Regions from separate parts of the Homo sapiens genome. Here region 2 is linked to region 1. The links are contacts of gene promoters, found by promoter capture Hi-C in human tissues and cell types (Jung and others, 2019). All regions are on one chromosome and are shown on one strand. The core of a region is centred on a gene start or on the middle of the fragment in contact, and the rest is flanking DNA. Distances in the headings are between cores, read along the strand shown. Region 1 holds the start of HAND2 (heart and neural crest derivatives expressed 2). Region 2 has its middle 89 kb from the start of HAND2-AS1.

Evidence for each region. Contacts are between HindIII fragments. The study calls those that stand out against the background at their distance.
Region 2: a contact is called between a fragment that was not itself captured here and the fragment with the promoter of HAND2 in region 1, in 2 of the 25 tissues and cell types used here (bladder and spleen).

The regions. Positions count from the first base shown.
Region 1 is chr4:173,528,715-173,531,968 of GRCh38, forward strand. HAND2 (heart and neural crest derivatives expressed 2) reads right to left here and starts at 1,515. Exons shown (of 2, transcript NM_021973.3): 1 at 21-1,515. The coding sequence starts at 575. HAND2-AS1 (HAND2 antisense RNA 1) reads left to right here and starts at 1,657. Exons shown (of 5, transcript NR_136196.1): 1 at 1,657-1,825; 2 at 2,253-2,364. The HindIII fragment of the contact is 12,639 bases long and covers 1-3,254 here.
Region 2 is chr4:173,617,929-173,621,182 of GRCh38, forward strand. No RefSeq gene overlaps it. Among named protein-coding and RNA genes, the nearest start is that of HAND2-AS1, 89 kb to the left of the region's middle. The HindIII fragment of the contact is 3,637 bases long and covers 1-3,254 here.

The sequences.
Region 1 (3,254 bases), core at 265-2,764:
TGCCGCCCCCTGGTACTGACCAGCTCCTTCTTCCTCTTCTCCTCTTTCACGTCGGTCTTCTTGATCTCTGCCTTGAAGGCCTCCGCCTCGCCATTCTGGTCGTCCTTGGCCAGCAGGTCCATGAGGTAGGCGATGTAGCTGGTGGCCAGGCGCAGGGTCTTGATTTTGGAGAGTTTGGTGTCGGCGGGTACGTTGGGGATGCACTCGCGCAGTTCGGCGAAGGCGCTGTTGATGCTCTGAGTCCTGCGCCGCTCCTTGCGGTTGGCGGTGCCTCGGCGCTTCACCGGGCGCGGCCCCCCCAGGCCCGGGGGCCCGGCGCCCGGCGGCACCCCCCCGTAATGGGAGTGGTCCAGGCCGGCGGCGCCGCTGGCATACTCGGGGCTGTAGGACAGGGCCATGCTGTAGTCGGGGGGCGACATCTCGGGGTGGCCGATGAGCCAGCCATGGAAGTAGGGGTTCTCCTCATGGCTGCAGCGGCTGGCGGCGGCGGCGGCAGCTGCGGCGGCGGCGGCGGCAAACGGGTAGCCCTCGTGGTGCACCACCGGGTGGTGGGGAAAACCACCTACCAGACTCATTTCGCCCTCCGCGCCCCTCCACGCGCCCCAGCGTGCGCGCAGCCCCGCCGCGCCCTCGGCCCGGGCCCCTGCCTCAGCGCTCGGCGTCCTCCCCCACCCCCCACCCCCCAGCCCCCGGGCGCCCGGGCCCGCCCGGCAGCCGCAGAGGGGGCTGCTGCAGCCCGGGCCCCGTCCCCCCGCCTGGCCAGCCGGGCCCGCCTCAGCAGCGCTGCGGCCGCCGGCTCCCCATGGGGCGCGGCGAGCTGGTCCTGGCACCGTGCGCCCCTGGCCGCCGCCGCCGCCGCCTCCGGTTCCCGCCTTGCTCCACGGCCCGCGCTTCGGCTCCTGCTTCCCGGGCTGCTGCGCGGAGGCAGAATCCTCTCGTGCTCATACAAAGGTGCCGGGGCTCCCGCGAGGCTGGTACGCGGAGTCTCGGGAATCCAAGCCCGGGCCGCGGTCCTGGCACCGAAGCTAACCCGGAATCCAGGGGCGAGTCTGAGCCGCGGCTGGAGGAGCCGGTCCAGCTGTGCCGGGGGGCGGCGGGGTCGACTGCTCACTGCAAAGCTACCTCCGTGCGACCCTCCCCTTCCCGCCTCTTCCCCTCCCCCCACCAGCCCGATCTGGGTTCTTGGGCGCTTATTGTTTTAATGAAATTTTTGGTTGTTGTTGTTTTGGTCCTTAAATGTGATTTTAGCTGCGAGTAACGTGTCCTCGCTCCTCTCGCGCTCTCTCGGAGGGTTTTCAGAGAGGTCTCAGTGCATCCATTTTCTCAGATCCTCTCCTTTCGGGGCAAGGATCTGGGGCCCTGAATGAGCCTTGGAGCTCGAAGACCGCGGCTCGGGCTCTCGGAGGGCTCTGCGCGGTGGCCGAGGAAGCTCCGGGGTGACGGCGGTGGTTCTCCTGGGCTGGACGACGTGAGGGGAGCAAGCGGATTTTCCCAGCAAGATCTCCATGTACAGCTACATCTTTAGGGCCGCTCGGGTTAATATATGTCGTCAGAGGCTCCTCACGCCAATCCCGGGGCGGCAGGGGCGGCGCCTCGAGCTCTCGGCAATAAAACTTTTTGATGTTCACGTTGCTAATTGCCGAGGTCCTCTTCCAGGATTGGCTACCTCCTCATAACCATAAGATAATTAAAACTTGGCGGGGGGGGGGGGCAGGGTTAAAAAAACTTTTTTTATCAGTCAGAGGATAATGCAAGTGTTTAACAGATGCTTCACTATTAAAATATTTTCCCCCCAAGTCTCAAATATTGAAGAATCTCTAACCAGGTACAGTATCACTCTGCTCTCTTTTCTGGTTGAAAAGAAAGAAAGAAAGAAAACGCAGGTATTGCTTTTCGAAGTGCTTTGTAGGTAATCGAGGTAAGAAAATATACGCAGGCAGCCTCTTACAATTTTATGCAGGGGCGCCGGGAGCCTCGTGACGGGCGGTGGGGGCCCCCACAAAGGCGCGGCTGGGAGCTGGCGCTCTTTGCCCCAGCAGGGACGAGGAGCGGCTGGAGAAGGGTGTTTCTTTGACCCGTTTACAGGCTCGAAACGCCGGTCTCAGTGGCTATTGAGTTACCCACCAAGTTACCCCGGTTAGAGCTGTTTGGGGTGGCTCACGTTATTGCGGCAAACTTTGGAGATGACGGCTGAGTCCTCCGGGCGAACATGTCAAGCCGATTGTAAATGCTGTTATTTCCACATCCTTCAGGGACACCAGTCCCTACGAAGACCTTGGGCGATTTTGAAGTGCGGGCACCTCGATTCCCCGAATCTGTAGTGTGGCTGGTATCGGTGTTCCCCTGGTTTAACTAGCCTGTTTGGTAAGTAACTGAATATTTTTTACGGCGTGTTCAGAGCTTATTTTCCAGTTTTTATGAACAAACATATAAATATATCTCTGCATTCCTGCCTCCCTCATAAAAGCGGGCATCTGTGGAAAGCAGGTTTAGTTATCGGAGGGGAACCATTAAACGCCAGTTTAAGAGGCAGGCCGGGAGGACGGCTCGTGGATGTTGAGACTGCTGGCCTTGGTGATCTTGAACGCATTATAACGGAAAATGGATCTCCACTTGTAAGTCACCGGGCCGCGGGGCACCCGGGCCGCAGCGCCCGTGTGGCATGAGCTTCTTGAGAAGGCTCACGTGCGGCGAGGGCGGGTGGTAAATGGCAGGAGCTGAAATCACCCCAGGCTTGGCCCCAAGCCGAGAGGGGAGGCTGATGTGTATATGCAGATTCCACCCGAAGGAGTTCGGTGTGGAAAACGGTGTCAACAGGAGCCCGCGGGCTGTAAATTAGAGGGAGGCGAGGGCCTGCGGCGCCAGCGCGGGACAGGGCGGCCTGGGGCTCGCCGCTGGTCAGGCCAGGTTAGCCCAAGGGAGACCAAAGACTCCACCTTGAGCATCGCCCTTTGGAGGCGGGCAGAGTCCGGCCGCAGGCCACAAAGCGATCCCCACCCGAAGGACTCCACAAGGACAGTCCTTTCCTTGCTCACCGCCGACAAAGTGGTTGGGGCAGGAAGGCGAGGTCAGTGCGAATGGAGGGCGCCCAACTTCGGTGTTGCAGTTGACTCTGTGCTCGGGCTCTGCCCTCCACTAGCCCTAGAGTCTTGGGCAGCAGGATTGAGAAATATATATATTTCAGGTTTGCCGCGGCTGGGCGGTAGGAGACAGGGACTTAAAAGCCCAGGATTAGAGTCGGTGCAGGGCCCATT
Region 2 (3,254 bases), core at 389-2,888, 89 kb after region 1:
TTCTCTAAACTTGTTTTCTAGCTTTATTTCATTAATTTGATCTTCAATCACTGATACCCTTTCTTCCACTTGATCAAACCAGCTATTGAAGCTTGTGCATGCATCACAAATTCTCGTGCCATGGTTTTCAGCTCCATCAGGTCATTTAAGGTCTTCTCTACACTGTTTATTCTAGTTTGCCATTTGGCTAACCTTTTTTCAAGGTTTTTATCTTCCTCGTGATGGGTTCAAACATGATCCTTTAGCCCGGAGAAGTTTGTTATTACTGACCTTCTGAAGCCTACTTCTGTGAACTTGTCAAAGTCATTCTCCAACCAGCTTTGTTCCTTTGCTGGCAAGGAGCTGTTTTCCTTTGAAGGAGAAGAGGCACTCTGGTTTTTAGAATTTTCAGCTTTTCTTCTCTGGTTTCGCACCATCTTTGTGGTTTTATCCAACTTTGATCTTTGATGTTGGTGACCTACAGATGGGGTTTTGGTGTAGATGTCCTTTTTGTTGATGTTGATGCTATTCCTTTCTGTTTGTTAGTTTTCCTTCTAACCGTCAGGTCCCTCAGCTGCAGGTCCATTGGAGTTTGCTGGAGGTTCACTCCAGACACTGTTTGCCTGGGTATCACCAGCAGAGGCTGCAGAACAGCTAATATTGCAGAACGGCAAATATTGCTGCCTAATCCTTCTGAAGCTTTGTCCCAGAGAGGCACCCTCCTATATTAGGCATTGGTCAGCCCCTACTGGGAGGTGTCTCCCAGTTAGGCTACACAGGAGTCAGGGACCCACTTGAGGAGGCAGTCTGTCTGTTCCAGAGCTCAAACACCATGCTGGGAGAACCACTTCTCTCTTCTGAGATGTCAGACATGGACGTTTAGGCCCGCACAAGTTGTCTGCTGCCTTTTGTTGGCTATGCCCTGCCCACAGAGGTGGAGTCTATAGAGACAGTAAGCCTTGCTGAGCTGTGGTGGGCTCCGCCCAGTTTGAGCTTCCTGGCAGCTTTGTTTACCTACTCAAGCCTCAGCAATGGCGGACACCCCTCCTGCAGCCAGGCTGCTGCTTCACAGTTCAATTTCAAACTGCTGTGCTAGCAGTGAGCAAGGCTCTGTGGGTGTGGGACCTGCCGAGCCAGGCATGGGAGAGAATCTCCTTGCCTGACGGTTGCTAAGACCTTGGGAAAAGTGCAGTATTTGGGTGAGAGTGTCCCGTTTTTCCAGGTACAGTCTGTCATGGCTTCACTTGGCTAGGAAAGTGAAATCCCTTGACCCCTTGCACTTCGTGGGTGAGGCAACACCCTGCCCTGCTTTGGCTCACCCTCCGTGGGCTGCACCCACTGTCCAATGAATCCCAATGAGATGAACCAGGTACCTCAGTTGGAAATGCAGAAATCACCCATCTTCTGCATCAATCACACTGGGAGCTGCAGACTGGAGCTGTTCCTATTCTGCCATCTTGGAATGAAGATCCCCTTGGTAATTTTTTTGTCTGTCTATTTGATTCTTCTCTCTTTTCTTCTTTATTAGTCTGGCTAGTGGTCTATCTATTTTATTTATCCTTTCAAAAAGCCAGCACCTGGATTCATTGACTTTTTGAAGGGTTTTTTGTGTCTCCGTCTCCTTCGGTTCTGCTCTGATCTTAGTTACTTCTTGTCTTCTGCTAGCTTTTGAATTTGTTTGCTCTTTCTTCTCTTTCTTTTGAATTTGTTTGTTCTTCTCTCTTTCTAGAGAAGGACATCACTTCTTTTAGTTGTGATGTTAGGGTGTCGATTTTAGATCTTTCCTGGTTTCTCCTGTGGGCATTTAGTGCTATGAATTTCCCTCTAATCACTGCTTTAGCTGTGTCCCAGAGATCCTGGTATGTTGTGTCTTTGTTCTCATTGGTCTCAAAGAACATCTTTATTTCTGCCTTCATTTCATTATTTACCCAGTAGTCATTCAAGAGAAGGTTGTTCAGTTTCCATGTAGTTGTGCAGTTTTGAGTGAGTTTCTTAATCCTGAGTTCTAGTTTGATTTCACTGTGGTCTAAGAAACTGTTTGTTATAATTTCCATTCTTTTGCACTTGCTGAGAATTGTTTTACTTCCAATTATGTGGCCAATTTTAGAATAAGTGCTACATGGTGCTGAGAAGAATGTATGCTCTGTTGATTTGGGGTGGAGCATTCTGTAGATGTCTGTTAGGTCTTCTTGTTGCAGAGCTGTGTTCAAGTCCTGAATATCCTTGTTAATTTTCTGTCTCGTTGATCTAATATTGACAGTGGGGTGTTAAAGTCTCCCACTATTATTGTGTGAGAGTCTAAGTCTCTTCGTAGGTCTCTAAGAACTTGCTTTATGAATCTGTGTGTTCCTATATTGGGTTCATATATATTTAGGATCATTAGCTTTTCTTGTTGCATTGATCTTTTTACCATTATGTAATGCCCTTCTTTGTCTTTTTTGATCTTGTTGGTTTAAAGTCTGTTTTATCAGAGACTAGGATTGCAACCCCTGCTTTTTTTTTGCTTTCCATTTGCTTGGTAGATCTTCCTCCATCCCCTTATTTTGAGTCTATGTGTCTTTGCACGTGGGATGCATCTCCTGAATACAGCACACCGATGGGTCTTAAATCTTTATCCAATTTCCAGTCTGTGTCTTTTAATTGGAGTCTTTATCCCTTTTACATTTAAAGTTAATACTGTTATGTTTAAATTTGATCCTGTCATTATGATGTTAGCTGGTTATTTTGCCCATTAGTTGATGCAGTTTCTTCATAGTGTTGACGGTCTTTACAATTTGGTATGTCTGCAGTGGCTGGTACCGGTTTTTCCTTTCCATATTTAGTGCTTACTTCAGGAGCTCTTGTAATGCAGGCTGGGTGGCCACAAAAATCTCTCAGCATTTGTTTGTCTCTTAAGGATTTTATTTCTCCTTTGCTTATGAAGCTTAGTTTGGCTGGATAGGAAATTCTGGGTTGAAAATTCTTTTCTTTAAGAATGTTGAATATTGGCCTTCACTCTCTTTGGCTTGTAGGGTTTCTGCAGAGAGATCCGCTGTTAGTCTGATGGGCTTCCCTTTGTGGGTAACCTGACCTTTCTCTCTGGCTTTCGTTAAGATTTTTTCCTTAATTTCAACCTTGGTGAATCTGACGATTATGTGTCTTGGGGTTGATCTTCTTGAGGAGTATCTTTGTGGTGTTCTCTGTATTTCCTGAATTTGAATGTTGGCCTGTCTTGCTAGGTTGGAGATGTTCGCCTGGATAATATCCTGAAGTGTTTTCCATCTTGGTTCCATTCT